7 separate regions of the Homo sapiens genome follow, and all the other regions are linked to region 7. The links are contacts of gene promoters, found by promoter capture Hi-C in blood cells and fetal thymus (Javierre and others, 2016). All regions are on one chromosome and are shown on one strand. The core of a region is centred on a gene start or on the middle of the fragment in contact, and the rest is flanking DNA. Distances in the headings are between cores, read along the strand shown.

Region 1 (3,464 bases), core at 702-3,201, 490 kb after region 7:
AAATAATAACTAGCACAGGCCAGGCGCGGTGGCTCACGCCTGTAATCCCAGCACTTTGGGAGGCCGAGATGGGCAAATCACGAGGTCAGGAGATCGAGACCATCCTGGCTAACACGGTGAAACCCCGCCTCTACTAAAAATACAAAAAATTAGCCGGGCGTGGTGGCGGGCGCCTGTAGTTCCAGCTACTTGGGAGGCTGAGGCAGGAGAGTAGTTTGAATCCAGGAGGCGGAGGTTGCGGTGAGCCAGATTGCACCATTGCGCTCCAGCCTGGGCAACAGAGCCAGACTCCGTCTCAAAAATAATAATAATAATAACTAGCACTAACATGATGCTACAATTTTTACTGGTTACCAATTAAAATTTCTGAGAAAGGCTTTTAATAAAGTTTTCCAGACAAGTTATAGGTGAGGTAACAAAGAGTCCAGAAGTCCCCTGGGTCAGTTTGATACCTCTTTCCTCTGGACTTCAATTTGCTTATCTGCAAAACAGGAAATTTGATCCCTTCCAAGTGTCACCAGAGTTTTTAAAGATAAAAATGGAATTCAGATGCGAACTTAATACAGTGAGCACTAGAGGGCAGTAGCTGGTTAATAAGTACAGCAATTAAGACAAATGCAGGAAATGACAGAAAAGGCTTTTCTTCTCCTTCCTCCTCACCTCTTCCTTCCTCCTCACCTCCTTCCCCTCTGCTCTTCTGGTACCCCTCCCCCATTTCCCTGGTTTACACTAAGTTCATAAAGTACATTAAGAGGAAAGCTGGTCTATTGAAAATACTACTTTTCTTATATTTTCCAACTTAACAGCTTGACACAAATCTCCAAGGGGTTTACATAAGCTTTAAGTAGGCTGAATAAATAAAACCTTGAGTCAATTTAACTTAACAAGTATTTATTGAATATCCACATGTAGGCCAGAATCAGATTAGTAACCAGGTGCCTTGGAATTTTAAAATTTCTCCTCTCTTTATTAATGGATTTAGCGAGTGGAAATCAGGCTTTCTGTGATGGTTTATAAAGGTATTTTCCTGGCTCTCTTGGAGTTCTCTGTCCACCTTGCTGCAGTCTTTGTTGTGATGGGGAGACCACATGGGAGCGGTCCAGATGAGTGATGCTACGGGCCCAAACTGTTAGTGGCCGTGAGGATATAGGTTGTAGGGGACATCTGGAGTGGAAAGAGTGCTCTTCTCACACAGCTCTCTCTACTTACTGCCCCTAGGATGGTGGGTGCAACTGTGGCAAGGGCAGTCAGGGTAGGGGAATCCCTTAGAGGAATTCAGCAGTGACTAGTCTGGTTAGCCTTTCCCACAAGGCCCATTGAGTTATGAGCCCCCTCCTTTGGTTTGTAGAAAGAGAAGGTAGCAGCCTAGAACAGGTGAGAAGATGAGGTAGGTCCTTCTGCTCAAACATCCTCTCTCCGTATTTTACCAACACGATACTGACCTAGGTTAAAAAGCTACTCTTGGCCAGGCGTGGTGGCTCACGCCTGTAATCCCAGCACTTTGGGAGTCCAAGGTGGGTGGATCACCTGAGGTCAGGAGTTCTAGACCAGCCTGGCCAACATGGTGAAACCCCATCTCTACAGAAATACAAAAATTAGCCAGGCATGGTGGCAGACACCTGTAATCCCAGCTACTTGGGAGGCTGAGGTAGGATAATTGCTTGAGGCCGGGAGGGGGCGGTTGCAGTGAGCCAAGATCGCTCCATTGCACTCCAGCCTAGGCGACAGAGCAAGACTCTATCTCAAAAAAATAAAATAAAATAAAATAAAAATAAGCTACTCTTAGCCAGGCACATAGTGGCTCACATCTGTAATCTCAGCCCTTTGGGAGACTGAGGTGGGAGGATCACTTGAGCCCAGGAGGTCGAGGCTGCAGTGAGCCATGATCACGCCACTGCACTCCAGCCTGGGCGACAGAACGAGAGCCCATCTCAAAAAAAAAAACAAAACAACAACAACAAAAAAAAAACTAAAAAACTCTTAAAAAACCTGAGGACTCCTGGATGAATACTGTTATGTGCCTGTTTCTCAATTACCCCTGGCCTGAGTGAGGAACTTTTGGAACTCTTTGGCTCCCAGACTGTGGTGGGCACTACCGGTCAGCTGCCCAGCAGCCAGCCCTAGTCCCACTTCTGCCTCATTTGTTACAGGTTGGAAGTGCCAGGTTCAGGGATGGGCCTGTGACCCAAGTTTTAGCTGAAAGGAAACCTACTAGGGACTTCTAGGAGAGATTTTCTTGCTTGTAAAGGGAAGGCTGCACAAGGAGAAAAGCCCTTTCTAACCACATCCCCTTATTTCATGCTTGGGATGCTGACCATGTGAAGACTTGGTTGTTGGAGCTGTGGTGGCCTCCCTGCCATGATGAGGGGAGAAGGCACTGCCACACTGAGCGTGGCAGTGGGTACAGGAAGAGTCCAGTCTCCGGGATGCCTTGGTTAATTGACAGGACAAACCCTGGAACTGCCAACTTCCATCTTGTTCTGTAATAATAAATCTCTAATATTTGTACCACTTTCAGTCGAGTATTCTATGATTTATTACTTATTGATAGCAAACACTTAGAAAGTACTTACACTATGGGCCGGGCACAGTGGCTCACGCCTGTAATCCCAGCACTTTGGGAGGCCGAGGCGGGTGGATCACCTGAGGTCAGGAGTTCGAAACCAGCCTGGCCAACATGACGAAACCCCATCTCTACTAAAAATACAAAAATTAGCTGGGCGTGGCGGGGGCAGAGTTTGTAGTGAGCCAAGATTGCACCCCTGCACTCCAGCCTGAGCGACAGAGCAAGACTCCACAAAAGAAAGTACTTACACTATGCGCCAGATTCACTTTTACATATACTAACTCATTTCAATTCCACAACAACCTTTTGAATAATTTTAATCCTTATTCTGTAGATAAGGAAACTGAGACACAGCGAAGTTTAAGGGCCTTTCCAGAGGTCACTTGCCCAGATAGCCTGGCTCCGGAGTTGCCACTTTTTACATTCTTATAACTGGAATGATACACGGTGTAACCAAAAAGAGGTTTGCACTAGATTGGAAATGTTCTAGAAAGCTTTTTGTTGTTGTTTTTGTTGTTGTTGTTTGAGACAATTTTGCTTTGTCACCCAGGCTGGAGTGTAGTGGCGCAAACACAGCTTACTGCAGCCTCCAACTCTCGGGCTCAAGTAATCCTCCTGCCTCAGCCCCCCAAGTAGCTGGGACTACAGGCATGTGCCACCACGCCCAGCTAATTTTTGTATTTTTGTAGATACAGGGTTTTGCCATGTTGGCCAGGCTGGTCTCAAACCCCTGGACTCAAGCAATCTGCCCATTTCAGCCTTCTGAAGTGCTGGGATTACAGGCATGAGCCACCATGCCTGGCCCTAAATAGCTTTTATTTTTATTTATTTATTTAGAGACAGAGTTTTCTCTTGTCGCCCAGGCTGGAGTGCAATGGCATGATCTTGGCTCATTGCA
Region 2 (3,299 bases), core at 176-2,675, 290 kb before region 7:
GAGCTCTTCCTTTTCAGGGTTTTCCTAGCTAGTCTTGTGTATTTTTTTCCCATATAAACTTTAATATCAACTTGTGTTGGTCTTTTAAAATACTCATGGTTATTTGTATTAAATTTATAAATTAACTTATAACGGACATCTTGATCAATTTAAGATGTGCCAAAAATAAGGCATGTTGTTCCATTGGGGAAGTTATTGGCACTTCGAGATCCGATGTTCTCTCTTAGATACTTCCTTAGGTAGTTTAGGTCATTAAATAAAATAATAAATATTTCTTGAGCAGCTACTATGCCCTTGGCACTATATTAAGCACGATAGAAGTAAAAAACCAGATTCTGTCCTCAAGCAGCTTAGAATTTCACGAGAGAAACAGACTAACACACCAAAAGCAAAGCAGGCATGCTGTATGAGCAAAGAGGAAATGGGGAGTAAGGAGGGCTAGAGCCACAAGGTAGTGAGACTGGAATCATGTGCCCTGAGGTTGTGTAAGATTTAGGCAGGGCAGCAAGGAGAAGGAAGGGATCCCAGTGAGGGGAACCCTGGCAAAAGCTCAGAGGAGGACTGAGTGTGACAGGTTTCACAGGGCAGAGGGCCCCATCCAGACTGTTAGCTGGAATCCTGGATGAGGCCCTCTTCCAGTCTCCGAGAGTTATGCCTCCATATTAACAGTCCCCAAACACTAATTATGTATTCATTAAAATGATGTTAGTGAATGTTTGCTGGGTTTCCAGATACTAGCCCTTTAGAATGGTAATTTCTGTACATTGTTACCTTTTCAGGGAATGGCCTTGAGTTGTGCCATCCAATACAGTAGCTACTTGCCATGTGTGGCTGTGGAGCCCTTATGATATGGATAGTGCAACTGAGCAACTGAATTTCTAATTTTATGTAATTTGAATTCACTAAATTTTAATTTTAAAATGAAAGTAGTATAAAATATTTTTCATTAAACCCAACTTTATTGTGTGGGGAGGGCTACATTTTAAACATAGTATTGTATAACATATGATTGCTGTATCACAGTATGTGTGTCCAATTTACTTTTTTTAATGTGGCTACCAGAAAATTTTAAATGACATATGCTGCCCACATTGCATTTTGCTTTGACAGCACTGGTCTAGAGTCTCACAACTCAGTGTGGTCTGGCTGGACTCACGTGAGAGCCATCCCAGACTCTGCACTTGACTAAGTCAGGATCTGCACTTGACTAAGTTCCCCAGGTGAATCTTATGCACAATAAGATAAGCACTGATCTGGACGACCTCAGAAGACATCCAGCCACTGGTAGGTACCCAGCATGACCCCCCCCAATCCTTATGGGAGGAGGCTGAGGGAGCAACAGGGAGACCCCTGACTGCCGTTGTGACATCACAGAATAAACCCCACGGGTCACCCAACCCCGCCCTGGCTGGTGTCTGGCCCTCAGGACATCCTCTCCAATCCACCACACACCACCTTACCCCTCTGCTGGCAAGAGGGGACCTGATTCATCCTCACGCTAAACACTCATTCTACCCAACTGATTGAGACAGAACAGAAGATAAACTGAAACTTCTCTGCCTTCCCGCTGCAAGAGTGAATGAGCGATCCCTCTCAACTGACTCAAAATGTTTGCCTCACCCAGGAGGTAGGTACAGTGATTTTGAAATCTCATGAACATCTCATACACATATCTTTACTGCTGGATTTGTAACACAGGTTACACTAACTCATCAATTTCATGTATTTCACATGGTCACAGTAAAGAGCTTGGAAATGCACTATAGGGTTCTACAAAATGGAATGAAAATGTGTCACTCAGCCCAGTTTTCATAGATAAAACTGGTATGTCCATACCTTGGCCTATTACCTTTTCATCTTCCTTCATTAAAACTTCCATTTCTTCTTCCCTTGTCTCATCATCTTCCTTCTCCTTTCTGTTCCCAGGGCTCCCTATGCCTCTCCTTTTTTCCTTTCATCTGCATTATTCCCGTTGCCAAAATCTGGAGCCTGGTAAAGGCCCAGTAGCGGTGGCAACAATAGAGCTGTGTGTCACCCCAGTGAGCTGAAAGAGCAGACATCAAGCTCTATGCCAGAGAACAGTGGGGCATCCCCAAGGTCCTGCTGGAAGGCAGCTCTGATCTGGAACTGGGAAGGACAACACACAGTCAAGCTCTTTCTCGTCTCAGAGAATCCAGCAGAATCTTCAGGGATCCTTCCAGACCAGGAAGACTCTCACACTCTGCAGAGAAGTTGCGGCTTGTTTAGCATTTGACCTACATTCAGAAACGACCAGCCTCCCAACTTTCAGCTCTAAGGATTACTTAAAAAAACAAATGGTGTTCATTCTCAGATATCTTGCCTTTCTCAGGAGAGAAAAATGAAGCTTGCAATTAGCCAGCAAACTAGCACATACACAAACACACACACACGTACATACACTCCAACACAGGGAGCAATGTGGTATGTTGTTGACCAGCTGGAAGTTAGGATCTCAAAGGAAAGAACAGGATAACTTAAGAGGCACTTCTGGGACTGCAGAGCTGAGCTGGTGGTTCTGAAGAGCCATCGGAGTGTGGGTTCAGGCAGCTTCCCTAATTCAGAAGCAGCCCCAAGTGAATAGATGACAAAGAAGTGGATGTGAACATGACAGAAAAAGCCAGTCATGGCTTAGAATAAATTTTATTATTGTTCTTTATCAGTGGTTTTCCAGGAGAGACACAGAGGGAATATGGGAGCGTCTGGTTGCTAATATGTACCTGAGAAGTATAAAGTACACTTAATCCATTGCCTCAATCTGCAGGAGGTCCCATAAATCTGGCCTGCAATCTGTACATTTTGTTAAAGGTGACTGTGCCTTGGCTTTTACTGAGTGGCAGCCTGGTGATGAGTCAGGCGAACAGTCCTCAAAGATTGCCAGTGTTGACTTTACCATTTACTAGCTTTGTGGCCTTGAGCAAGTCAAACCCTCCGAATCGGAACCCTCACTTGTAGAATGGGGATGCCACGTCCCTTTCAGGCTGGTTGTGAGGATTAAGGAAGATGTCTGAAGGGTCTAGCAAGGTGTCTGCTGGTAGCACAGGTGCACTTCCCCTTCGTTTCTGCTTAGAGGCACTCTTCTTCTACCTGTTTTCGATTTTCACAGAACTAAGAAGGACAACTCTTTGCCCTCATTTACCCCTGAGGGTAAATTTAACCCTCTGGGAGGTTAAGTAACTTGGCCAAAATCCTCAGTGCAGTCGTGCATTGGGTCGTAAATAGAACTCGGATCTGCTGAGGGGTCTGGGTGGTGAAGTCCCGCCCTGGGGTCTTCCCAATGA
Region 3 (3,158 bases), core at 655-3,154, 440 kb after region 7:
CGTGAACCCGGGAGGCAGAGCTTGCAGTGAGCCGAGATTGCACCACTGCACTCAAGCCTGGGCGACAGAGCGAGACTCCGTCTCAAAAAAAAAAAAAAAAAAAAAAAAGAATACTCTCTGCAACCCTGCCTTCTCTATGTAGCTACCTGCTATTCATCCCTCAAAGCTCAGCTGAATTCTACTTCCTCTAGGAAGCCTGCCCCAAATTCCCAGGCCAAATTAATAATTATCTCCTCCATGTTTATCTACTCTTTGGGACATGTGGCCAGTGTTACTAATATGATATTATTGTGAATACTTACCTGTCTAAATCGCTCACAAAACAATAAGGTCCTAAAGGGCAGCAACTATGTCTTCTATTTTTTGTACCTGCACTGTCTGACCACATCAGGCACTTAGCAGGTGCTTATCAATATGTTGCAGAAATGAATGACCAATTAAAGGCTGTTGGCAGGAGGGTCTTATAAGTAAAATGGAAAAACTGGTATCGGACAGAAAAATATGGATTAAAAAGCATTTTTTTAAGGATTTCTGCCTCTGCACATGAAGGATTAACTGCTATTATGCAATAATAAACAACTAGAAAACCAGACAAAAATATATGAAACACTCATTTCCGATACTGTATAACAGGCAGCACAGGACTTTGATCCCTGAAAGAAGGAAAACAAGCCCTACCATTTTCCCAGCTTATTACCTAAAGGCAGTTTCCAAGAGGCAGACCAGGGAGGTGTCTTGGTCGGTACAGGCTGCTACAACAAGAATACCATAAACTGGATGGCTTAAACAACATACATTTATTTCTCACAGTTCTGGAGGCTGGGAAGTACAAGATTTAGGTGCTAGCACATTGGATATTTGGTGAGGGCACTCTTCCTGGTTTGCAAATGGCTGTCTTCTCCTTGTGTCCTCACATGGCTAAGAACAGAAGGAAGAAGGAACCTCTCTCCCCTCTCTTCTTGTAAGGGCGTGACTCCCATGACATGAGGGCTCCACCCTCATGATCAAATCACTTCCCAAGGCCCCATCTCCTAATACAGCATATTGGGGATTACAATTTCAACCTGTGAATTGGGGGGAGACATAATCATTCAGTCCATAGCAGAATGGACATCAAAAAAAGCCCAGCAGCCTCACTGAGTTAGAGAGAGAGCAAAGTTTGCAGAAACTAAAGTGGGTAGGATTTACACAACAGAATATGGGAGAGAAGGGGGCAGCCTTGAGATCTGCACAGGGTACCCTTAAATCTCTGAAAACATCATCTGTAAATTTGTAAGGTGAAATTCCAGAGACTGGAGAAAACTAGAGAGAAGCAGTAGGCCAAATATTTTCTGAAGAGCTCATGTTCCCATTAGCCACAGTGGAGAGACTTCATAATACATAAGGCAACAGGTAGAGTACTCAGAAGGATTTCACCTTAGTAGTGAGATGAAATTAAACTAGGCAAAGACTGCACTAGATGAGCCCCAACGGTATTTAAAAGAAAACATGGGAAGGGTCCAAATGACTACAAGTAACTTAACCATATGTATATGCCAGAATAAAGTCTGGTATCCTTAAAGGAATAAAATGAAATCCAGGCCAGGTGTGGTGGTGCATGCCTGTAATCCCAACAATTTGGTGGACTGAAGCAGGCGGTTTGCTTGAGCCCAGGGGGGTTGAGGCTGCAGTGAGCCACGGTGGTGCCACTGCACTCTAGCCTGGGCAACAGAGCGAGATCCTGTCTCTAAAAGGAAAAAAAAAATTAGTAAGTAAATTTTAAAAGAAATGCACTCTACTCCCAGCACTTTAGGAAGCCGAGGCAGGTGGATCACCTGAGGTCAGGAGTTCAAGACCAGCCTGGCCAACATGGCGAAACCCCGTCTCTACTAAAAGTACAGAAATTAGCTGGGCATGGTGGCGGGTGGCTGAAATCCCAGCTACTCAGGAGACTAAGGCATGAGAATTGCTTGAACCCTAGAGGCAGAGGTTGCAGTGAGCTGACATCGTGCCATTGCACTCCAGCCTGGGCGACAAGGGCGAAACTCCCTCTTAAAAATAAAATTAAAATAAAATTGAAGTACTCATACGTTCAAAAAGTAGAGGAAAACATAAGCATGATAAGCAGAGAGATCAAAGACATTTAAGGGGGAGAATCTAAAGCTGAAAAATACCAGCATCTGAAATTAAGAACACCTTGGATGAGATTAAAAGCAGTACAGACATGACAGAAAAAAAGACCACTGAACATGGAAACACAGCAGTAAAAATTATCCAAAGTAAGGACAGAAAGGAAAAGACTAAAAATAAAAATTGAAAGGTGTGTCAGTGATGTGTAAGAAAATATCAAGCGGTCTAACATCGAATTGGCGTCCCACAAAAAGCAGGTGGGGGGAGCAGAAAAATATTGGAAGACATAATGACCAAAGTTTTCGATTAAAAGTACAAACCTGCAGATCAAAGAACATAGAGAACATATTAGTGTGAACTTGTCATTTTCAATATATAGAAAATATAGGCCAGGCATGGTGGCTCATGCCTGCAATCCCAGCACTTTGGGAGGCTGAGGCAGGTGGATCGCTTGTGCCCAGGAGTTTGAGACTAGCCTAGGCAACATTGGGAAACCCCATCTCTACAAAAAATACAAAAAGATTAGTTGGGCGTGGTGGCACGCAGAGTAGTCCCAGCTGCTCAGGAGGCTGAGGTAGGAGGATTCCTTGAGCCCAGGAGGTCAAAGCTGCAGTGAGCCGTGATTGTGCCACTGCACTCCAGCCAGGGTGAAAGGGCAAGATCGTGTTGCCAAATACACGAACATATAAAAAATAAACATAGGTGTAAATGTGTGGGTGTGTATCTATGGATTCCCTAGCTAAATCTTCTGAGAAGGTCCAGAAATGGATTCTAAATAAGACCCTTCACTAAAAGAACCAGGGTTCCTTTAAGAAATACCCGATTCTAGAGCTGGAGACATGGAAGAACAAAATAAGTCTGGAACATTATATTGTGCCAGAAAATAAAGACATTTTCAAAGTATAAGGGGAATATGTTAAAAGGACACAGTAGGCCAGGCGCAGTGGCTCACGCCTGTAATCCCAGCACTTTGGGAGGCCGAGGTGGGCGGATCACAAGGTCAGGAGATCGAGACCACCCTGGCTAACACAGTGAAATCCCGTCTCTGC
Region 4 (3,250 bases), core at 260-2,759, 340 kb after region 7:
AGGAGGAAGCCAGCATCCCCAAGAAGCTGCAGACCGCCAGGCCTTCAGACAGCCAGAGCAAGCGATTGCATTCGGTCAGAACCAGCAGCAGTGGCACCGCCCAGAGGTCCCTTTTATCTCCACTGCATCGAAGTGGGAGCGTGGAGGACAATTACCACACCAGCTTCCTTTTCGGCCTTTCCACCAGCCAGCAGCACCTCACGAAGTCTGCTGGCCTGGGCCTTAAGGGCTGGCACTCGGATATCTTGGCCCCCCAGACCTCTACCCCTTCCCTGACCAGCAGCTGGTATTTTGCCACAGAGTCCTCACACTTCTACTCTGCCTCAGCCATCTACGGAGGCAGTGCCAGTTACTCTGCCTACAGCTGCAGCCAGCTGCCCACTTGCGGAGACCAAGTCTATTCTGTGCGCAGGCGGCAGAAGCCAAGTGACAGAGCTGACTCGCGGCGGAGCTGGCATGAAGAGAGCCCCTTTGAAAAGCAGTTTAAACGCAGAAGCTGCCAAATGGAATTTGGAGAGAGCATCATGTCAGAGAACAGGTCACGGGAAGAGCTGGGGAAAGTGGGCAGTCAGTCTAGCTTTTCGGGCAGCATGGAAATCATTGAGGTCTCCTGAGAAGAAAGACACTTGTGACTTCTATAGACAATTTTTTTTTCTTGTTCACAAAAAAATTCCCTGTAAATCTGAAATATATATATGTACATACATATATATTTTTGGAAAATGGAGCTATGGTGTAAAAGCAACAGGTGGATCAACCCAGTTGTTACTCTCTTAACATCTGCATTTGAGAGATCAGCTAATACTTCTCTCAACAAAAATGGAAGGGCAGATGCTAGAATCCCCCCTAGACGGAGGAAAACCATTTTATTCAGTGAATTACACATCCTCTTGTTCTTAAAAAAGCAAGTGTCTTTGGTGTTGGAGGACAAAATCCCCTACCATTTTCACGTTGTGCTACTAAGAGATCTCAAATATTAGTCTTTGTCCGGACCCTTCCATAGTACACCTTAGCGCTGAGACTGAGCCAGCTTGGGGGTCAGGTAGGTAGACCCTGTTAGGGACAGAGCCTAGTGGTAAATCCAAGAGAAATGATCCTATCCAAAGCTGATTCACAAACCCACGCTCACCTGACAGCCGAGGGACACGAGCATCACTCTGCTGGACGGACCATTAGGGGCCTTGCCAAGGTCTACCTTAGAGCAAACCCAGTACCTCAGACAGGAAAGTCGGGGCTTTGACCACTACCATATCTGGTAGCCCATTTTCTAGGCATTGTGAATAGGTAGGTAGCTAGTCACACTTTTCAGACCAATTCAAACTGTCTATGCACAAAATTCCCGTGGGCCTAGATGGAGATAATTTTTTTTTCTTCTCAGCTTTATGAAGAGAAGGGAAACTGTCTAGGATTCAGCTGAACCACCAGGAACCTGGCAACATCACGATTTAAGCTAAGGTTGGGAGGCTAACGAGTCTACCTCCCTCTTTGTAAATCAAAGAATTGTTTAAAATGGGATTGTCAATCCTTTAAATAAAGATGAACTTGGTTTCAAGCCAAATGTGAATTTATTTGGGTTGGTAGCAGAGCAGCAGCACCTTCAAATTCTCAGCCAAAGCAGATGTTTTTGCCCTTTCTGCTTCACTGCATGGATACAGTTGGTAAAATGTAATAATATGGCAGAATTTTATAGGAAACTTCCTAGGGAGGTAAATTATGGGAAGATTAAGAAAGGTACAAATTGCTGAGGAGAAGCAGGAAACCTGTTTCCTTAGTGGCTTTTATCCCCTCGGCATGCGATGGGGCTGATGTTTCTATGATTGCCTCAGACTTTCACATTTACTAGTAGGGCTGAGAGAGGCTTTAGTGAGGAAGGAATATTCAGAATAAAACGGTTGAGAAAGCTGAGAAGACCATTGAGTTTTGATCAGTTGTGAATAGAGTGCAAAGCCATGGCCAAGCTGTTTTTGGAAACGCTGGCCGGCGTGTCTTCAGTGGAAAAAGCAAATCAAAATGGAGCGAGAGCAAAGGGGCGTCCTCAGTCCTCAACCTACAATCACTGTATGGAATCGGTCCTGGCAGCTGAACATAGGAGGTCACTGGAACAAGTGATAGTGCAGATTGGCTTTCAAACATCCTCCTGGCTTGAGTTTTATCAGCTACAATGTGGGTCCTCTTTTGAAGCCTTAATTCACAACAGCAGCTTTTTGGGGGTGGGGCTGGGCGGGTGTTGTCATTGTTCTTTCCCTTCCTGTAAGTGTCGCTAGTTGCTGCCTCGTATCTCAGGTTTTTCTCTGTTTTTGAGAAATGGACAGTTTTTTGACCAGGATGTGACTTCATGTTTCCTATGGTGACTTCTAAAACCAGCACAGAATGATATGACTCAACACAGACCGACTTGGTTATGGGGATGATGAGCCGCACAGACCTCACTAGTTGTGCACAAATAATGTGCTATGATGGGGTGTAAAGTGAAGGCAGAAGAGGGTCAGCCGCATTGTTATGATACTGGGAAAGTGCTGGTCAACGATTTGAGTTAGTTTTTAGATATACATTGAAATCTTTAATCAGACATTCTCAAGTTTCACACAGTAGTTTTTGATGTTATGTACACACACACCAAATGTGTAACAGTTCACCACTTCCAGAGTGTGGTCATGCCCAAAACATGTTTAAGAAAGGAAAGCAGTAGCTCCTTGCTAACGATGTTTCAGGAGGTTTGGGGGACTTGGTTTTAATGAGCTTCTGTCATTTAGGGCTTCTCTTGGCCATGGTCCCCCTTCCTTCTGGAACTGTGATGTAGTCACATCCTACAGCCTTTAGTGCTGGTTCACTAGTGTCAGATAATCAGTTCTTGGAATCGAGACTGCCGTGGCGAAGGGGTGGCCTCGGAGGCAGGCTCTGGAGCTGCTTGGATGTCTTTAGGTGGGGTGGTGGCTGGCTCTCTTCAGCATGTAATTGGGGAAACCCTCGCGTCTACTAGGGGTGATACAGATGGTGATTTTAAAGAGCAAAACTAGACTTCTATGTGAGAAGTGCTGGAAAATGATTTAGGACATGTGTAAAGTTAGATGGAAAGACTGTAAATGTTTAATATGAATATAGTGTTCTTTTGAAGTAAGGCCAGCTGTTGAACGGTTAAACTGTGCATTTCTCATTTTGATGTGTCATGTATGTTAATGTATGAAATGATTAAATAAAATCAAAACTGGTACCTGTTTATACATAAATACGAGAAAAGACCTATCTTTGC
Region 5 (3,155 bases), core at 376-2,875, 370 kb after region 7:
AAAATGACTCCAGCTGGGTCTTAAACATTACGGTACCGATGACAGAAAGAAATCCCTGCCCAGCCCTGTGTGCAGGCCCATGAATGGCAACTCTCGTGCATTCCTTCAAACACCAGTTGAGGACCTACCATGTAAAAAAAGGAATAACCAAAAATGAAATGAAGGACTCCAAAGAGGCAGAACATAAGTAGTATGGTGCAGTGGAAAAGATGACTCACCTTCTAATACCATCTTAGTCATTATCTAATGGAAAGATACCCAGCAAATCCCATATACACTCGAAGATCCTTGGTTTCTTTATTTGCACAATGAAAGGGCTAAATTAGAGAAACCTTAGGGCCTCTTCATAATCCTGTGTAATCATATGGCTTTCCAAGGATTGCAAGTTTTTCTTACCAGTTCATCTGAACCCCCTCCATGCTTCATACTGGTTTATGTCAATACACTATGCTTATCAACACATCTAAGAATTAAAACAGGAGTTACTAGAATCATATCATGAATGTACTCTCAAGGCCTTCAAGCAAGCACACAGGAACTGTAACAAAATAAAGCTTGTGGCTTTATCTTAGTTACAAAGGCGTTCTAATCTATGACACATTTACCCACTGACAGCAACTAGAATGAGGCAGAAATAAGACCCAGGGCAGTGACAAGAGAAGCTCCAAAAGTCTGTGCTGCAACTTGTTCTAATCTATGAACACATTTACCCACTGACAGCAACTAGAATGAGGCAGAAGTAAGACCCAGGGAAGTGACAAGAGAAGCTCCAAAAGTCTGTGCTGCATCTTCCTGGGGCTGCGTATTTGCCACCAGCCTCATCCCTCGCCCCCAGGGAAACCACACCTGGGGAGGAAGCACACTCCTTTCTGGTTGGCTTTTCAGTTACCCCACATTTCAATGATAGATGTAACCTAAAACTAAGTGTCTGTCAACTTGAATCCTTAACTAGAAATGAGGCAATATACAGGAAATCCCCCAAATCAGAGGCAGCCATGTATCCACAGCCTAGAAGCCAAGGACTAATGGTTTGCCACCATCCAGCTTCACATTTCTCAAGACCCATGTTCCCCAGGCACGAGTATGCTATCCACAAAGCAGAATAAACAGTTAAATTCACTACAGAAATTCCAAAAACTACATATTCATGGCATGAAAGAAATCCTGCAGGGTTTGAAGGAAACCACAGTGGGCTTAAAAAAAAAAAAATTTTTTTTTTGCCTTGCCTCTATTTAGTGCTTATACTTGGGTTGTTAAGAGCAGAACTTAAAATGGGGCAATATTTAGACAGCTGCTGGTATCAAGTAATTTCAAATGGGCCAATTCATGGCAATTAGGATAGGCCTTTCTCCTTAGTCATCATTTATATTTAAAGCAATAACAAAGAGCTAACACTACAGTGTCTACTACATGGCAGGCGTGGTCCCTAGAACTGTACCAAGAATAACTCATTGAACCCTCACGAAAACCTGAGGTGGATGTCATTCTGTTCTCACTGAACAGAAAAGGAAACTGAGGCTCAGAAGAATTAAGGGACTTGCCTGAGGTCACACAGGTAGTCAGAGATGGAGCCAGGATTGAACCTTGGCAGTGTGGCTCTGGAGTTTACGCTCAGAACCATTCTGCCAAATTGTCTGCAAATACAAAGAGCAAATACAAGTTGCCCTGCCTCAGCTGAGCCCTCAATGCCTAATGGCACTCATTACTGTACCCAGTCACCATGACCACTCAACAAATGACCTCCCTCTTCTCCACAGAGGATACAAGCTGCTGGGTGTGACCGATCTGTGCCAGGGACCCTCCTGTCATAAACTTGCCTGCGTCCTCCCTGTTCTCTCAGAACAGATGTCCCACAAGGCTCCAACTCTTGCCTCCTCAGGGATCTTGCTCTAAGAATCCCCCTTTCTCCTTCATCTTTGATCTTGTCTCATCTGCCTCTTCCCCCTCATCCTGTAAACATGTTCAAGTGCACCACCTGCATAACAAAAAATCCCCTTTGATCTTCATCCACTTTTAACTTAATTTTGGCCACTACCTCACTGTGTGACCTGGGCGAAGTGCTTACTTTCTGTAAAAGCCTTTAATTTCTGCATCTGAATAATGAGAGCACTGGACCAGAGGGTCTCTAAGGTCCTTCCAATTCCAACATTCTGTGGTTCTTAATGCAGAGATTTCTCTGAGCAAGCTCACTGAAACTCAGGCCAGTTTCTTCAGTGTCCCTGAAGCCCCAAAGTTAATTTTCTTCTAAGACTGTCAAGCTGTTCCCCTGCAGCAATGCCCCCCTCTTCCTCTCATTTCCCAAATCCTGGTTTTTTTTTTTTTTTCAAAGACCTAGCTTAAACCCCGTCTGCTCCAGGATATCCCAATCTTTAACTCTTACAGAACTTTAGTTATAAATAACAAATGAGCATTCCCCTTCAACAGTGCCTTTTTCATATTTCTGTTCTGTATATCTTCATTCCCTCAGCGAGGCTAAACTCTCAAAGAGCAAGGACCATGTTACATGTCTCTGGAACCCCCAAAGGACCTCCCCACTAGGTGGGTCTGCAATAGCTGCTCAACAGTGCTGGCTGAGGGGTCAGCCTATCGCCATTAAAGAAACTAGTAGTTAAGGTATGTCACTAGACTCCCTGATTGCAAAGTAAATTACCTCCGTTCTTCTCCCTCACATACACAAATCTATAAACATAAGCTTTTCATTCAAGAGCATCATCCAAATTTAACATAAGGAAAGCTGAGCTAACTCTCTGATTTTCCTTTATCTGAATCAGAAATAGTTATAGCCATGTTTCCCTTTGATCCAGACTTAAGTGATCACAGGTACTGTAATCTTAGGGACCTCTAGTTGATCCCGGTTATATACTTCCACTAACACATATTCTCCATGGTTATTAAGTTCCCTCACTTGTCAACACATAGCATTATGTTACTTCCTCATCTTTCCAACCAAATTTCCAGGAAACATCTGGAATAATATCAGAGAGTTGGTGTTTGATCAAAATGACATCCTCTGCTTTACTCATTTGGAAGTGACTAATTTCAACCCTTAGGTCTGAGGTGAACATAGACGGACGGATATGATTCAGGAGTTTGCTAACACTCACCAACAGAGATAAGACGGACACATTACGCCACCAATGAAAGCCCCAAAACTG
Region 6 (3,095 bases), core at 538-3,037, 390 kb before region 7:
CAATCCTTTCGGTCCTCTTAGAAATTGTCATTTGTCTAACCCTTGCCCCTTAAGGGGGGAGACCTCTAAGAGCACACCCTCAGGAAAGACCAGGAGAAAGTTCACTTTCTCAGCCCAACTTCCTCATACCTCCCAAGATTCACACCTCACCAGATCCTGATCTCCTTGCCCCCTATGGGGAAAGGAACAGGCTGATTGCAGGGAATTACAAATATTACATAACGAATACTTATGTTTAATCCTCCTCGGGCTCTTCAAATGACTTTCTTGTTCCTGTTGCTTCTAATTTACAAACATCCTCTTCTTAAAAGGGGGAAGGGCTGGAGGGGCCAATGACAGAATATAATCCACCAAGTGAGGCCACTTAAATGAGTCACAGAAAACATTCCCTCCCTGATAGGCTGTTGGGAATTCAGCAGCATTTTGTCTCCTTGGGTTGCTCTGTAACCCCTAAAGTCAAGTCTGATTTCCTCTGCCCAGCTCACACTCTCTGTCTCAATGACCCCTCCCACGGCACCTCTACCTGGGCCCATGCATCACAGCCCTGGTGGTGTGTGCGAGTGCCTGGCCCCTGGATCCACCTGACCATATGCCCTGCCCATTGCAGGCTGGAAGAATGGATGTGAGAATCAAGCAAAAGAGCGACTCTCTTTCATCTTAGATTTTTGTGATGGTGCCCTCCCTGTCTTTTCACCACGGAAAGAAGCAAAATGTCTTGAGTTAGCAAGCGGTCTTGTGCAAAACACACAGTTCTCTCTGTTTTTAGCTGCTGTATCCAGCCAGAAGGAGGGGCTGTTTAGCTTAAGCTACAACTTCTCCATCTTTTCACTGGCCCATTATTTGTCAGGTTTTACTAATATCATTCACTGTCAGTTTAGAGGGGCTTCCATTATTTTCAATGGCCTTCCCCCCAACACAGGTGAAAACAGAATGAGTTATCTTCTTGAGTTTCTGGGCTGAATCATCCCTAGTTACCCAGTCTTTACACTGTGCTAGATACCTCCTGCCCCCAGGGAAACCCTCAGTCTGGGAGGAGGCGATCACTGAGGTCTTTATGAAAAAGCCATTAGTGGTAACTAATGGGTAAATGTCTGGGCATTTATCAAATAGCAGAGTATAATAAACAGAAGAACCCCTGCTCCTGAAACTTCCACCCACCCATTACTTGCAAGGTAGCTTGTGGGGAGATTCATTCTCTGCCCCATTGTGAATCTTGCTTCATACAAAGGCACTGAAAAAAATACCATTTATGAGAATTTATACCATTGGAAGTATTGGTGGCTACTACTTATTTCTTAGCAGTGTGTTTCACTAAAACAATAGTAGACTTCTCCCTCAGCCCTCTCTAAAATGATATGGGTGGCACTCTCCAGTGGAAAGCATACCCCTAGTCCTAGTGAGGCAGCGCAAACCAAGATGCAGAGAATCACAGCATTGCAATTCTGAATACTTTGAAGCAAGACCCGCTTTTTGCAGAGCATTTGGTGCACTGAGCAGTTCCAAAGTTGTAGGGGAACGCTCATAACAGCGTTCATTTGTGGTGCTTAGACTCCCAGACCTAGGCCAGCAGAGCTTATCAATTCATTGCATTTTTAAAGAACAGGCCGTCCACTGACTTCTATGTGGATGCCAGGAACACATTTCTGTACCCACCACTGTGAGTGGAGGATGATCTCCTTCTTAAGCCTCATCTACCTAACATACATGGCACAGGGGCAGTTAGGGGCTGGGTGGGAAACTGAGGAAGGTATAGGACCCATGTATGTTGACTCTGGAGAGAAGTATTATTAAGAGAAATGGAGATCAGCACCTCGGAGCCACACACAGGTCTCTGATATCCCTTTTCTGTTCTTCTTTCTGCCCTAACGGACAGGCTTGCAGTTCCCTACCTCTGACCACCATCTTTTGTTTCTGATCACTGTTCCTCCTTTTCTTTCTGCATTGCCCAGACCACACTAGAGCAGAGGTGTCTTTGTGCTCCTAGCTCTAATGCAAACCTCACAAACACTGACCATTCAGTATTCAGATAAAGTTCTTAGCTAACAGAATAGCTAATATAGTCAGTAGAAATAACCCTGAGGGAGTTCGAGATCATCCTGGCTAACGTGGTGAAACCTAGTATCAATTAAAAATACAAGAAATTAGCCGGGCGTGGTGGTGCACACCTGTAGTCCCAGCTACTGGGGAGGCTGAGGCAGGAGAATCACTTGAACCAGGGAGGCGGAGGTTGCAAAAAGCCAAGATCGCTCCATTGCACTCCAGCCTGGGCAACAGAGCAAGACTCCGTCTCAAAATAAAATAAAATAGAACCCTGAGGATTAAAATTGCTCGTGACTATAGCTCTAAAGGACTAACTAATATGAGACATGAGGGAAGGGAAAGAGGGATAACCAAACCTCTCAAGTTATCTCCATCCATTTAAATCTTTATTGGCTTCTTGCCTCCCTCTTACACACCACACACACACACACACACACACACACACACACACAAATGAAAGAATCAAAGGAACACAGCCCTGAGACTGCCATGCATTGCCTTGTTGCCTTTGTTCAGGCAGCCTAACACTTTTAGGGTTCTCTGACCAGTGAGAAATTACTCAGGCCCCCATGGGAGCCTTTCCTTTTCTGGTGGGTAACTAAATCTGCAGAGACTTTGAGAAGAATTGACTTCTAAGGACCAGAAGGGAAGTTTAGAGGTGCATAATTTGGTTCCCTGATTGCTAACCTAGGAGTCAGATAACTTCTTCCTGTCCAGAAGTCTGTGTGTTCACTGAACTGCCATGGGGCCTGGCGGCAGCAGCAATTCTTTAAGAGTGACCTAAAACACAATAACTGGGAGCAACACAATAGAATAGAGCAACCAAAAACCCACTTCCCCAGTGAAGGAAGTGGTCAAAATCCTGGGGCTTGAGTCACTGAAGAATTAGCCCTAGCTGAGGGGTGGGAGGGGAGCATGCTCAGAAATCAGGAGCTGAAGACGATGCAAACACTGGGGGAGGCCCTCAGGGCTCAAATTTCCATGATTCATTTGAGAGTGGGTGAGATTCTCCCAGAATGAAAGGCATCATGGAGACCTTCTCTACAAAAGGGCAC
Region 7 (3,241 bases), core at 652-3,151:
TACTAATGAGTAATAATTATAGCTTACATTAATCACTAATAATATAGTAATACAGTAATAGCTACATTAATACTAACAATAATTAGCCACATTACCCCTCTTATAACAATTGCTATGATTACATTCACTCTCTCTGAGGATCTTAATAGATTTCAGTTAACTAAGACCTCTGGGCCTCTTTTATCACCCACCCTAATCCTGTAAAGTTGGTACTTTAGGAATCTAAGAGCAGGACTTTACTTCTACTCCTATTAAAGTTCATCCTGTTACAGCCAGATGTGGTGGCTCACACCTGTAATCCCAGCACTTTGGGAGGCCAAGGCAGGTAGATCACTTGAGGTCAGGAGTTCGAGACCAGCCTGGCCAACATGCTGAAACCCCATCTCTACTAAAAATACAAAATTAGCCGGACATGGTGATGCGCCTGTAATCCATTACTTGGGAGGCTGAGGCGGGAGAGTTGCTTGAACCTGGAAGGCAGAGGTTGCAGTGAGCCAAGACCGCACCACTGCACTCCAGCCTGGGCGACAGAGCGAAACTCTATCTCAAAAAAAACTCCATCTTAAAAAAAAGATCTCAAAAAGAAAAAAGTTCATCCCATTAGTTTCAGTTCCAGTAGCCATCAATCTGCTTTAACCACTGTTTTACAAATCTGATAAACATGGCTCACAGCAAGAATTCTCAACTCCTCAAGACACACATATGTGTTCCAGGCATCCTTCCCTAAGTGTGCGCCCACTGATGCATAAAGTCTACCAAGATTGTCGTTAATATACTTTAACTTTAACCTAGGGCTTCCTTAAAGTCAGCATCTGTGGCAGAGAACAAACCCTTTCAGCTATTAAGACAGAAAGTAAGCTCAGTAAAATTGGAGAATGACATTTTCAAATACCATTACCCAAACTTTGTACCTTTAGTGACCATATCCTTATTTCACTTGAAGTATGCAAGCAACAGCTTTCAAAAGGGGTATCTAATTGAGATAACTTTATATTAAATCTGTACGAAGTCATACAACCTACCTTGTAAGGCCAAAGGAATAGCTTCAATCTGGATCTTGGTGGGTTTTGTCCATCCCAACTGGTCACAAGCTTCACACAACACATCTGTCACACCCTTGGAATTCAGAAAAATATACCTTAGCCAAGAACAGCACACCCCTACCTCCCTCCTACTTAACTGACTGTCAGACCCATCATGTACAACCATTGTATTTGATTTAAAAGGTATTTACTGTGCATCTCAGAGCCTACTCTTTAACTATACCATGAGACAGTAGCTCAAGACTTAACGAACACTTTCTGCTCACCAAGGCCAAGGCCAGGTGCTTTACATGTATCATCTCATTTAATCGTCACAACAATTCTGCGAGGTAAGTACTTATTACTATCCCCAATTTACAGATGTGGAAAGAGAAACACAGAGAGGTAACAACTTGTCCTCAGTAAGAGACTGTGTCAAAATTCAAATCTGGTTGGTTCATCTGACTCCAAAGCTCCAGTTATAAAGAGACCAATTCCATTCCCCATATGTACAACCTCCTGGATGCACATACAAACGTTGCCACACTAAAGTGGCGAATAGGGCAAATAGGGGGTCTCAGGGCCCAGCAGCCCTCCCACCACCCAAACTCAGAGCACGTCCGAAACCCAGCCCTCTGAAATTCTGGGGAAAACCCAAGCTAGGCCCCAAGATGCTTTTGTACACTATCAGAGCGGGATCTAAGGTACCTGGGGTCTCCCTGAGCCTAGCACCAGAGTACATAAAAGAAGCCAGCGTCATCCATTCTCACCAGGTCTTTAAATGTTTTAGTTTCCTCCTCTTCCACAATCGGCTGGGACGCTTCGGTCGGAGAATCGTGTTCCTCGGGTGCCGCCATCTTGTGTGAGGTCTCCGGAAGTGGGTCTGCGGCGCGCGGGATGCTGGGAAATGTAGTTTTAGTTCTCCCCGGACGACGTGCTCTGCGCGCCCCCTGCGGGCTTGCCGGGGATTGCACCCGTCCGCTAGGCAGGTGGGGCCCAGTGAATATGGGCGCGTAGGCTTGCGGAATAGATCCGAGTGCAGAAGGGGCTGATCACCAGGGACTCCAGTTGACCTTTAGGTCCCTTTTAAAGAGCCTTCCCTACGTGTGTCGCCAGTTATGTTCCCCGCTTTTCTAACCATAGAGTTTGGAACGGATTGATATTACAATACTATTTTTTTATTATGTCATTACTTTATTCAATAATGTTGAGAACCTACCATTTGCTAAGGCTATGCTAGATGGCTGGTGAATAGGACAGCGACCCCTGCCCTCGTGAAGAAAAAGAAGACAGATCATAAATAAGCTATCACAGAGCATTTCAAATTGTGAAAAGTAGCTGGGTGTGCTCACGCCTGTAACCCCAGCACTGTGGGAGGACGAGGCGGGCGGATCACTTGAGCCCAGGAGTTCGAGACCAGCCTGGGCAACGTGGCGAAACCCTGTGTCTGCAAAATGCAAAAATCAGTCAGGCATGCATGGTGGCATGCGCCTGTAATCCCAGCTATTCAGGGGGCTGAGGTTGAGGGATCAGTTGACCCCGGAAGTTGAGGCTGCAGTGAGTGGAGATGGTGCTACTGTACTCCAGCCTGGGCAACAGAGTGAAACCCTGTTCACATAAAAATTACAGAGTAACCTGGGGAGGGTGGGTTGTGGGGATAACTGTGAGATTGGGAAGGCCTCTCTGAGACAGTGATATTTGAGTTAAGACCTCACTGTTGAGCAGGAGAAAACGCTTTAAGATCCCAGGAGATAATCATTCCAGAGTGAGAGAATTCCAAGTACCAAGACTGTGAAGCTACTAAGGCTATTCTGGAAAGCAGCAAATTCAGAGCTGTATGTTGCATGCCCCATGGCCAGCGAGTGCCCTCCTGTGGCCTGTCACTTGGGTCTCACACTGCGCAGGGTGCTCGTTGCAGTTTTATTCCTGAGGATGGGAAGTTGGGGGCAATCTGGTGTCCGTCACTGGGAAAATGCATAGTTAAAATGTGAACATGGTGTCTACAAACATGCCCTTAACAATATGATTAGATCTGAAAAACCTAGTGCTTAGTGAGAAAAGCATAAAATATATCAAGTATATTAAAATATAGGCCCACAGATATCACATTCTGCTAAAACACATCCAACAGAAGATACACTTGAAATATTTTAGAATGGTTGCCTGCAGAGGGAGAAGAATTAGAATAAAACTGGGAATTGGGAATAAAAGAATTAAGT

What was found. The method cuts DNA at HindIII sites, captures the fragments that hold promoters and counts their contacts. A CHiCAGO score of 5 or more calls a contact.
Region 1: a contact is called between a fragment that was not itself captured here and the fragment with the promoter of DDX47 in region 7, in 2 of 17 cell types (non-activated CD4 T cells and total CD8 T cells). The highest score is 6.1, in non-activated CD4 T cells.
Region 2: the fragment with the promoter of GSG1 here is called in contact with the fragment with the promoter of DDX47 in region 7 in 1 of 17 cell types (naive B cells); the score reaches 5.2 in naive B cells.
Region 3: a contact is called between a fragment that was not itself captured here and the fragment with the promoter of DDX47 in region 7, in 10 of 17 cell types (naive CD8 T cells, total CD8 T cells, non-activated CD4 T cells and 7 more). The highest score is 15.2, in naive CD8 T cells.
Region 4: a fragment that was not itself captured here is called in contact with the fragment with the promoter of DDX47 in region 7 in 1 of 17 cell types (naive CD8 T cells); the score reaches 5.5 in naive CD8 T cells.
Region 5: a contact is called between a fragment that was not itself captured here and the fragment with the promoter of DDX47 in region 7, in 2 of 17 cell types (naive CD8 T cells and fetal thymus). The highest score is 6.4, in naive CD8 T cells.
Region 6: a contact is called between a fragment that was not itself captured here and the fragment with the promoter of DDX47 in region 7, in 2 of 17 cell types (naive B cells and M1 macrophages). The highest score is 5.8, in naive B cells.

Annotation. Positions count from the first base shown.
Region 1 is chr12:12,325,109-12,328,572 of GRCh38, reverse strand. MANSC1 (MANSC domain containing 1) reads left to right here. Exons shown (of 4, transcript NM_018050.4): 4 at 1-2,517. Among named protein-coding and RNA genes, the nearest start is that of MANSC1, 23 kb to the left of the region's middle. RefSeq lists an enhancer at 2,766-3,266. The HindIII fragment of the contact is 2,222 bases long and covers 841-3,062 here.
Region 2 is chr12:13,101,793-13,105,091 of GRCh38, reverse strand. GSG1 (germ cell associated 1) reads left to right here and starts at 1,425. Exons shown (of 7, transcript NM_001080555.4): 1 at 1,425-1,627. The coding sequence starts at 1,580. LOC105369666 (a long non-coding RNA gene) reads right to left here. Exons shown (of 2, transcript XR_931369.3): 2 at 2,646-3,105. The HindIII fragment of the contact is 5,406 bases long and covers 1-2,367 here.
Region 3 is chr12:12,370,932-12,374,089 of GRCh38, reverse strand. The region is part of intron 2 of BORCS5 (BLOC-1 related complex subunit 5); the gene reads right to left. Among named protein-coding and RNA genes, the nearest start is that of BORCS5, 15 kb to the right of the region's middle. The HindIII fragment of the contact is 9,315 bases long and covers 1-3,158 here.
Region 4 is chr12:12,474,197-12,477,446 of GRCh38, reverse strand. DUSP16 (dual specificity phosphatase 16) reads left to right here. Exons shown (of 7, transcript NM_030640.3): 7 at 1-3,250. The coding sequence ends at 614. Among named protein-coding and RNA genes, the nearest start is that of DUSP16, 87 kb to the left of the region's middle. The HindIII fragment of the contact is 4,519 bases long and covers 1-3,250 here.
Region 5 is chr12:12,439,775-12,442,929 of GRCh38, reverse strand. The region is part of intron 3 of BORCS5 (BLOC-1 related complex subunit 5); the gene reads right to left. Among named protein-coding and RNA genes, the nearest start is that of BORCS5, 84 kb to the right of the region's middle. RefSeq lists enhancers at 2,981-3,155, 2,555-3,155. The HindIII fragment of the contact is 2,138 bases long and covers 557-2,694 here.
Region 6 is chr12:13,206,325-13,209,419 of GRCh38, reverse strand. All of the region lies in intron 1 of EMP1 (epithelial membrane protein 1), which reads right to left. Among named protein-coding and RNA genes, the nearest start is that of EMP1, 11 kb to the right of the region's middle. The HindIII fragment of the contact is 5,765 bases long and covers 1-3,095 here.
Region 7 is chr12:12,812,006-12,815,246 of GRCh38, reverse strand. DDX47 (DEAD-box helicase 47) reads right to left here and starts at 1,901. Exons shown (of 12, transcript NM_016355.4): 1 at 1,793-1,901; 2 at 1,023-1,116. The coding sequence starts at 1,879. RefSeq lists an enhancer at 1,765-2,074. The HindIII fragment of the contact is 15,992 bases long and covers 1,094-3,241 here.